Linked DNA regions of Homo sapiens: all the other regions are linked to region 1. The links are contacts of gene promoters, found by promoter capture Hi-C in blood cells and fetal thymus (Javierre and others, 2016). All regions are on one chromosome and are shown on one strand. Each heading gives the region's core, a stretch centred on a gene start or on the middle of the fragment in contact. The rest is flanking DNA. Distances are from core to core; before and after follow the strand shown. Region 1 holds the start of VTA1 (vesicle trafficking 1). Region 2 has its middle 250 kb from the start of HIVEP2. Region 3 overlaps HIVEP2 (HIVEP zinc finger 2).

What was found. The method cuts DNA at HindIII sites, captures the fragments that hold promoters and counts their contacts. A CHiCAGO score of 5 or more calls a contact.
Region 2: a fragment that was not itself captured here is called in contact with the fragment with the promoter of VTA1 in region 1 in 1 of 17 cell types (fetal thymus); the score reaches 5.8 in fetal thymus.
Region 3: a contact is called between a fragment that was not itself captured here and the fragment with the promoter of VTA1 in region 1, in 1 of 17 cell types (fetal thymus). The highest score is 5.1, in fetal thymus.

The regions. Positions count from the first base shown.
Region 1 is chr6:142,145,822-142,148,521 of GRCh38, forward strand. It overlaps VTA1 (vesicle trafficking 1), which reads left to right and starts at 1,442. Exons shown (of 8, transcript NM_016485.5): 1 at 1,442-1,578. The coding sequence starts at 1,467. NMBR (neuromedin B receptor) reads right to left here and starts at 1,301. Exons shown (of 4, transcript NM_002511.4): 1 at 1,223-1,301. RefSeq lists enhancers at 1,171-1,465, 1,229-1,368, 1,623-2,143. The HindIII fragment of the contact is 1,973 bases long and covers 871-2,700 here.
Region 2 is chr6:142,689,199-142,691,898 of GRCh38, forward strand. No RefSeq gene overlaps it. Among named protein-coding and RNA genes, the nearest start is that of HIVEP2, 250 kb to the right of the region's middle. The HindIII fragment of the contact is 3,484 bases long and covers 1-2,700 here.
Region 3 is chr6:142,935,418-142,938,306 of GRCh38, forward strand. The region is part of intron 1 of HIVEP2 (HIVEP zinc finger 2); the gene reads right to left. Among named protein-coding and RNA genes, the nearest start is that of HIVEP2, 8.3 kb to the right of the region's middle. The HindIII fragment of the contact is 2,164 bases long and covers 507-2,670 here.

The DNA.
Region 1 (2,700 bases), core at 192-2,691:
GATACTGACATTTAGGATCCCACCTAGAACAATTAAGTGAGAATGCCTGGAGTGGGCTTTAAAGTTGATCTTTAAGGGCAGCTGCGGTTGAGAATCAAGAAGTAATAGGAAACAAATAAATGAAAAGTTGTGAGTATAGAAAGAAAACAGTTATGGTTATCCAACTCTGCTTTTCTTCATTGATTTCTCTACCAATCTAGCAACTTTTGACTGGAAAGTCCAAATAGTGGGAGTAAGAGAAAGAGAAAGAAACCATACATTCTCCAGTGGTAGGAAATATGCCGCTGAGATTGGGGAAGAAGACAGAACTGAGTTTCAGGCTGAGTAAAAAAGCCCGACCCAGAATAAGATGATGGACTTTGCAAATAGGTCTAGGCAACGTATGTGGAGTGGGATAATATGAGGACATGGAGCGGTTTCTTCTGGGGGTGAGAGAGTGATCAGAAAATAGTAGGCAGAGGGGAATTTCCGAGCTGGAGATTTTGGCTCTTGGGGATAGTGTGATTTCAGTGAAAACTAGTTTTAAGATGAATTGTCAAAACTGAGGACTGAGATAAAATAAAGAAGGTTATTGGAGGAAGTAAATAAAGTGTACAGTCCTGAAAGATATAAGTAAGGGATGGAGAGGAGAGGAAGAGAATTGAAGTCATTGAGGGTAGAAGGAAAAGTGATGCCTACTGTACAATGGTTAAGAGTTACCAGCGTTGAAAACGTCCCAAACACCCTATCTTACATTAAGACAAGATAATAAATATGAAAATACTTTACAAATTGTTAATCACTCTCCAGAAAAAAAAAAGGTGATCTACAGATTATTCATTCACTAAAATACGTACTAGCCAGCTGAGAACAAAAGTTCAATCTTCTTTAAGCTTCATATGTTTAGCTTAATTTGGCGCGAAATCTGATTATTTTATCCAGTATGTCAACATAGAAAAATTTAATTTACAATTTAAACACATTATTTCTCTCTCATGCAAGTATTGAAATTAAAGTTTCTAAAATCAAAAAGGCTTCTAAAGGACACTGCTATATGGAATATTAATGTGGCATATTAACTGGAAGTGGTAATTCCTGAATGACGCCAAAGGCAATTCTCGCCTTTATACTTTCTCCCAGTCAACATACATTATTTTCTTGTTTTTCCTTTTCTATCCTTCCTTTTGCCACAAACAACAAACCAAACAAAAAAGCAAAACAAAACAAAAACCCTTCCTCCTACCAGCAGAGAGCGCTAGCGCCATGCGCGGCATAAGCGCCAAAATGCTCGGGTCTTCTGTGGGTTCTAACCGCCGAGAGCCAAGCACCCTGAGGTTGTCCCAGCTGGGGATCCGTAGTTGACTTGACGTCGCTGAGCAACGGAAGAGTGGGCAGCATTTGCTCTGAACGCTCGTGCGCGCTACCGCCCAGACGGAAGCGGAAGTGCCGGTGGAGCGCGAGTAGGAAGTGGTGAGTTCGGAGTAGAGATGGCCGCGCTTGCACCGCTGCCCCCGCTCCCCGCACAGTTCAAGAGCATACAGCATCATCTGAGGACGGCTCAGGAGCATGACAAGCGAGACCCTGTGGTGGCTTATTACTGTGAGTCTTTCCGAGTGGCCGCGCCCTTTCTTTCCCAGTTGCATTTTAGGGCCCACACACCTCCCTGAGGTTCTTGGGGCATGCCCCGCCCCCCTCGCTTTAAACCTGAGCTTTGACCTCGAGCCTACCCAGGGAACTCCCTGGGTTCCCACCCCCTGGCAGTAGGAATCCCAAAACACCATGGTGTCCACTGCTTCTCCTATCTTGTGCTTAAATGCTCCAGTACTGACTACACAGGCTCTTGAACTGTGGAATATAATCTTCCAAGGTTTTCTCTGTGTGTGTACACACAAGAGCTTCTTGTCTCAAATAGGAATCCTGAAAATAAATTGAGTTAGGTTTAAAACGAAGGTGAGTGTCCGAAAGAAGGAGTGATGTGGATAAAAGGACGATAGACTAGTTGAAAACATAGTAATAAGTGAATATTATTTATGACAGCATGCAAGCCCAATCAGAAACTCATTTGGTTAAATGGGGAGTATCTGCTACTAAATAAGCAGTTGAATTTGACCTTTCCCCACCCAGCTGCTCTCTCCTACCATGCAGAATTTTTAGTTTTGACTTCTTTGAATAATACCCGCTGTTGAGACCTTTGAAAGCAGTATTTTCACTTTGAGTGTTATACGTTGAATTTACAGTTTGATTAAAAAAAATATAGGTTAACTCTGCTCAAACTTGTAGTGAGTAAAGGGAGTGCCAGTAATTCTGTGTTAACTTTATTTTGTATTCTGTACTCTTAACTTTACTGCAAATAAAACAAGTAACTGGACAATTATAATTCTGAAAAGGATATTTAGAGTTGAGAAGTTGGATATAATGCGTCCATTGTTGTGTATATTGTAAGGTTAGCTAAAATCTGGTCACTGTTATCTCTGCCATACTCCAAATGTACCCTGTTTCTCAAATGTGCAAGGCCTTTTCAGACCTACCATCTTCCACTCTCTTGGAATGTGCACCTTTTTCTTGCACTTGGCAAACTCATGATTCAAGATCTAACCCAAATGTCACCACTTCTGTGGGCAGCAAATTGATTATTCTCTGTGCATTACTTCATTTTGTTCAAATTTTACAGCATCATTTTTATTATACTTGTTCTTCAGTTTCCTCAAGCAGGGTCCATAT
Region 2 (2,700 bases), core at 67-2,566, 540 kb after region 1:
CCATAAAAACAAAAGACAACAAGTTTTGGTGAGGATGTGGAGAAAAGGGAACCCTTGCACATAGGTGATGGAATGTAAGTAAGTTGGTACAGTCATGATGTAAAACACTGTGGAGGTTCTAAAAAATTTTTTTGAATAAAACTACCATATGATCCAGCAATCCCACTTCTGAGTTTATATCCAAAAAAAAAATTGAAATCAGGATCTCAAAGAGATAGTGCACAACCATGTTCACTATAGCATTATTCACAATGACCAAGACATGGAAACAACCTACATGTCCATCAGCAGATAAATGGATAAAAAATGTGGTCTATACACTCAATGGCATATTACTCGGCCATGTGGAGATCCTTCCACATGAAACAGCATAGATGAACCTGGAGGACATTATGCTAAGTGAAATAAGCCAGTTACAGAAGGAAAAAATCCTGCATGATTTTTCTTACATGAGGTAGCTAAAATAGTCAAACTTAGGGAAGCAAAGACTTGGACAGTGGTGCCAGGGACTGGGTAGAGGCAGAAATTGGGAGCTGTTGTTCAATGGGTATGAAGTTTCAATGATGCAAGATGCATGAGTTTTAGAGATCTGCTTTACAACACTATGCCTATAGTTAACTGCACTGTGCACTTAAAAATTTGTTAAAGAGTCTGGGTGCGGTGGCTCAGGCCTGTAATCCCAGCACTTCGGGAGGCCCAGGCGGGTGGATCACCTGAGGTCAGGAGTTAGAGACCTGCCTGGCCAACATAGTGAAACCCCATCTCTACTACAAATACAAAAAATTAGCCAAGCGTGGTGGCAGGTGCCTGTAATCCCAGCTACTTGGGAGGCTGAGGCAGGAGAATTGCTTGAACTGGGAGGCAGAGGTCGCAGTGAGCCGAGACTGCGCCACCGCACTCCAGCCTGGGTGACAGAGTGAGACTGCATCTCAAAAAAAAAAAAATTGTTAAAGAGAGTATATCACATTAAATATTCCTACAAAAATAAATAAATAAATGAATATTCTTTTTAAAAAATGTTTATTTTATTTTAAGTTCCAGATACATGTGCAGGACCTGCAGGTTTGTTACATAGGTAAACATGTGCCATGGTGGTTTGCTTCACCTATCAACCCAGCACCTACGTATGAAGCCCTGCATGCATTAGCTATTTATCCTGGTGCTCTCCCTCACCTCCCTTGCCACCAACAGGCCCCAGTGTGTGTTGTTCCCCTCCCTGTGCCCATGCGTTGTCATTGTTCAGCTCCCACATATAAGTGAGAACATGCAGCATTTGTTTGGTTTTCTGTTCTTGTGTTAGTTTGCTGAGGATAATGGATTCCAGCTCCATCCATGTCCCTGCAAAAAACATGACCTTGTTTCTTCCTATGGCTGCATAATAGTCCATGGTGTGTATGTACAATAAATATATATTCTTGCCTGATACAAACACACAGGTACACAAAGGTGCACAAGGAAACTTTAGGAGGTGAATATGTTTCTTGCCTTGATTTTAGTGATGGTTTCACAGGTGTATGCCTATATTAAAATTAATCAAACTGTACATTAAATATGCCAATTTACTTCAATAAGGGAGTTAAAAAATTAAAAATGAGACTGGTGGGAAGACCAGAAAGCAGTCTTCACATATTTAAAGGGTTGTCCTGCAAAAGAGGGATCAGACTTTTTATTGCATCTGGCTCTGGAGGACAGAGAAAGGGGCAAGGCATATAGATTATAAAGAGGTAAGGTTTAGCTTGATAAAAGGAAAAATCCTAATAATTATAGCTATTTAAAAACGAAATATGCTTATTGAACTTTTAAAGGTGATATTATGGACAAATACTTAATGAAAAAGGATAAAAGATGGTTCTAAAACATGAGTAGTACAATTCTTTTAGAATAAAGGTGTGCATACCCATGCACGCATGTGCACGCATGCACATGCACACACACACACACACATACGCACACCTGGGCACATACATCAGAATGTTCATGGTGTTTATCTCTGAGTGATAGTATTACAGATATTTTTAATTTTTATTTTGTACATTTTGGTTTTGTTTTCTAAAATTATTACAGTGAATGCAAATTATTTTTCTTATGACAGGAAAACACTGTACAGCAAAAATGGTTGTGGGACCTAGGGAGTTCTATTTTGTTGGAGGTGTTTGAGCAGAACCTGTAGTTGCTGTTGATAACTCCCAGGATGTTGAAAAGGAGACTGTTATAGACAGGAAGATGGCTATTACCTCTTTTAACCTCTATGGTGCTTCAGATTCTGAGAATCTATTGCACAAAATAATAATTATAACTAATAATTATAACCACTATAACTATTAACATATAACCTGTAGTTATTAATAGTTATGATTAATAAAGTCATAGAATCTCAGATTTGTCAGGGAACTCAGAAGTCAACTTTCCCAGCCAATGTAAGACAGTATGAAAAATCCTTGGCCACACATGCGGATAAAGGATTGCCCATGGCTGGGAATGTATATCCTTTCCTGCTGCTCACTGGTCTACACTAGCAGGTAAGAAACACATTTGTCTCTAAACACCCAGCCCAGTGGTACATGAAATGATCTTCATCTATTTGTTTCTCAAGCATGAAATGATAGCCTACACACAATCTTTTCATATTGTAGTCACTCTGTGATCTTTCAAAATGAAAATAAAGAGGTCTTGTCACTAGGTGTACAATCTATTTTCCTT
Region 3 (2,889 bases), core at 339-2,838, 790 kb after region 1:
AGGTGCCTGTAGTCCCAGCTACTTGGGAGGCTGAGGTGGGAGGATCGTTTGAGCCCGGTAGTCGGAGGTTGCAGTGGAGGCCCAGATCGCACCACTGCACTCCAGTGGGGGCAACAGAGTGAGACCCTGTCTCAAAATAATAATAAAGTAAAGGTGCACAGACTGATGAACTCTGGCTATTGGCACAAAGACTAGACAGGACTTGAGCTCCTGGAGGATCTCCTTCATCTGGTTCTCATGGCCCCCATCTTATAGTGTGGCAGGTGTTTTTCCTTACCATTTGGACCGTAAGCTTCTTGAGAATTATGACTTTAAACATCCACCAAATATCAACTGTATGCCCAGCACATGTCATACACTGTATTGAGCACACTTTTGTGAAAGTGAAACCATCCTAATCCACTAGAAATTTTATAGCAAAAATTATCAGTTAAAAGATGAATAATTCACTTAAACAAGATTAAAAATATAAACTCTGAATATAATTTAACTACTTCACTTTGGCAAGCTTATAAATGCATTTAACAATAGGATGTGTCACAAAAATTAGCCGCGCATGGTGGTGCCAGCCTGCAGTCCCAGCTACTCAGGGGACTGAGGCGGGAGATCATTTGAGCCCAGGAGGTCGAGGTTGCAGTGAACCGTGATCGCGCCACTGCACTCCAGCCTGGGTGACAGACCGAGAACTTGTCTCAAGAAGAAAAAAAAAGGATGTGTCATTTGTAAACCATTTTTTTCTTGCCCATAATAAAACAGCCAGCACTTAATTCTCTCTCTCTCTCTCTTTTTTTTTGAGATGGAGTCTCACTCTGTCAGACAGGCTGGAGTGCGGTGGGGCGATCTCGGCTCACTGCAACCTCTACGTCCCGGGTTCAGGCGATTCTCCTGTCTCTGCCTCCCAAGTAGCTGGGACTACAGGCACGTGCCACCACACCAGGCTAATTTTTGAATTTTAGTAGAGATGGGGTTTCATCATATTGGCCATGCTGATCTCGAACTCCTGACCTTGTGATCCACCCACCTCAGCGTCCCAAAATGCTGGGATTACAGCCGTGAGCCACCGCCCGACCACCAGCACCTAATTCTACTAATTCTACAGGTATGAAGGGCCATAATGCTGAACCATAAAAATGAATTTTTAAAAAATCTAGTGCTATAATATTTAGGTGTCAAAAACTACCTTACTATGAAATATATGTACATACACACATACACATATATATAAAATAAATGGGGTATTTCATTAGTGATTTAATAAGTCTTACGATGTTTCTTTGTTATTTGGGTTAAGAGAGACCACTATAAAAGCAGAGATCCTGTAAACACTGAAAAGTAATGCAGTGACTGAATTAGCCATAAAAAGTTTCTAAATTAGTCTACTAGAATGTAAACTCCATGAAGGCAAGGAATTTTTTTTTTTTTTTTTACTATTTTTGTCTATTGATGGATCTCCAGTGTCTAGAACAGCCCTTTCCCAGAGCAGGTGCTTAATAAATCTCTGTTGAATTAATAAATTTTTTTAGAATTAAAGTCAACAGTCCTGTGAACACCCAAGTTGAGTCTCTTAAGTAGGCCCAAGGCCCCACGAGTAATCACTGGTCCTCTGGCTCTTGCACAGAAGTTCGAGTGGGGTAAGGGGTAATTCAGGCCCCAAAAGCTATTTTTAGAGCAAAAACTTCAGAATGATTTTCCACAAAGAACCAGAGAATTTAGTTCACTTCATTGGCATAGCACTGGCTGAGCTCAGTGAGAAACACCCCAGATTTTAATTGATATTTCCATTTGTTAACTGTTAAATGTGAAACCATGTCATTCTAACATTGTTTCTTAAACCATTTCAGTCAAGAGTTTAATGGACCATTTGAAAATATTTAATATTTTACTGTCACAACAATTTGAATTGTCCTATGTTTTTCTTATAGTCTAATACCTTGTTAATAATAACCCATAGCTACCAGGTATTAAACGTTTACTATGTGCTCATTGAGATGGGTACAAACATTCTCATAAAAATTTCCCAATGACTCTTGAATGGGTATTATCCTCATTTTGTAACCTCAGGGAGGTTAAGTAACATACCCAAATTCCCCCAGGTGGTGGTGGAGCTGGAATTTGCCCTATTCTGTCTGACTTCAAATCGAGGTTCTTAATCCCGTGGGCTACCTGTTTATCCATATACTACTAAGGGGAAACATTGTGCTAAGTGATAAATATGGTTGGCCTTTTTTAAATATTTGAAATAATTTTGATGTGTAAACAATTGCTTATACTGCGTGAAATGGTAAAAAGACAAAGCATTTTCGGAGCCAAAGAACCCTGAGTTGGAATCCTGCTTCACCAATGACTAGCAAAGCATCCCCACAAAAACCTTTCCGAATGGAAGTTTCTTTAAGTATACACATCAAGATAAAAAACTAAATCTTCTCAGGTTGGTTGTGAGGGCTAAGTGACGTAATGTGGAGAGAGAGCCTGGGATGGAGCCTGGCACAGGTGAGTGCTCTTTAAGCCTAAATTGCCTTCCTTCTAACGGATTTGCTAAATTGGCACTGTGCTGATTTTTTTAAGTGTTTAGTTCATCCTTGTAATACCATAATTACAGAATATAATGACATTGCATTCTCTACAACTACAAAGTAGAATTTATAAACTGATAGAATATGAGCTGGAAGAAGCTTTAGGAGCCATCTGTTCCAATCTCTTCCATTTCCAAATGAGGTCCAAAGAGCTTCGATGACTTGTTTCCAAGTTTTCACAGAAAGTTAATTGCAAAGACAGGACTAGATCTTGCGTCCCTCCCACCCCCACTCCTGCTATACCCTTCGCTTTTGCTTCACATTACACAGGCATGGCAACGCATGTAATTTTCTAACAATTAAGCAGTATAAAATA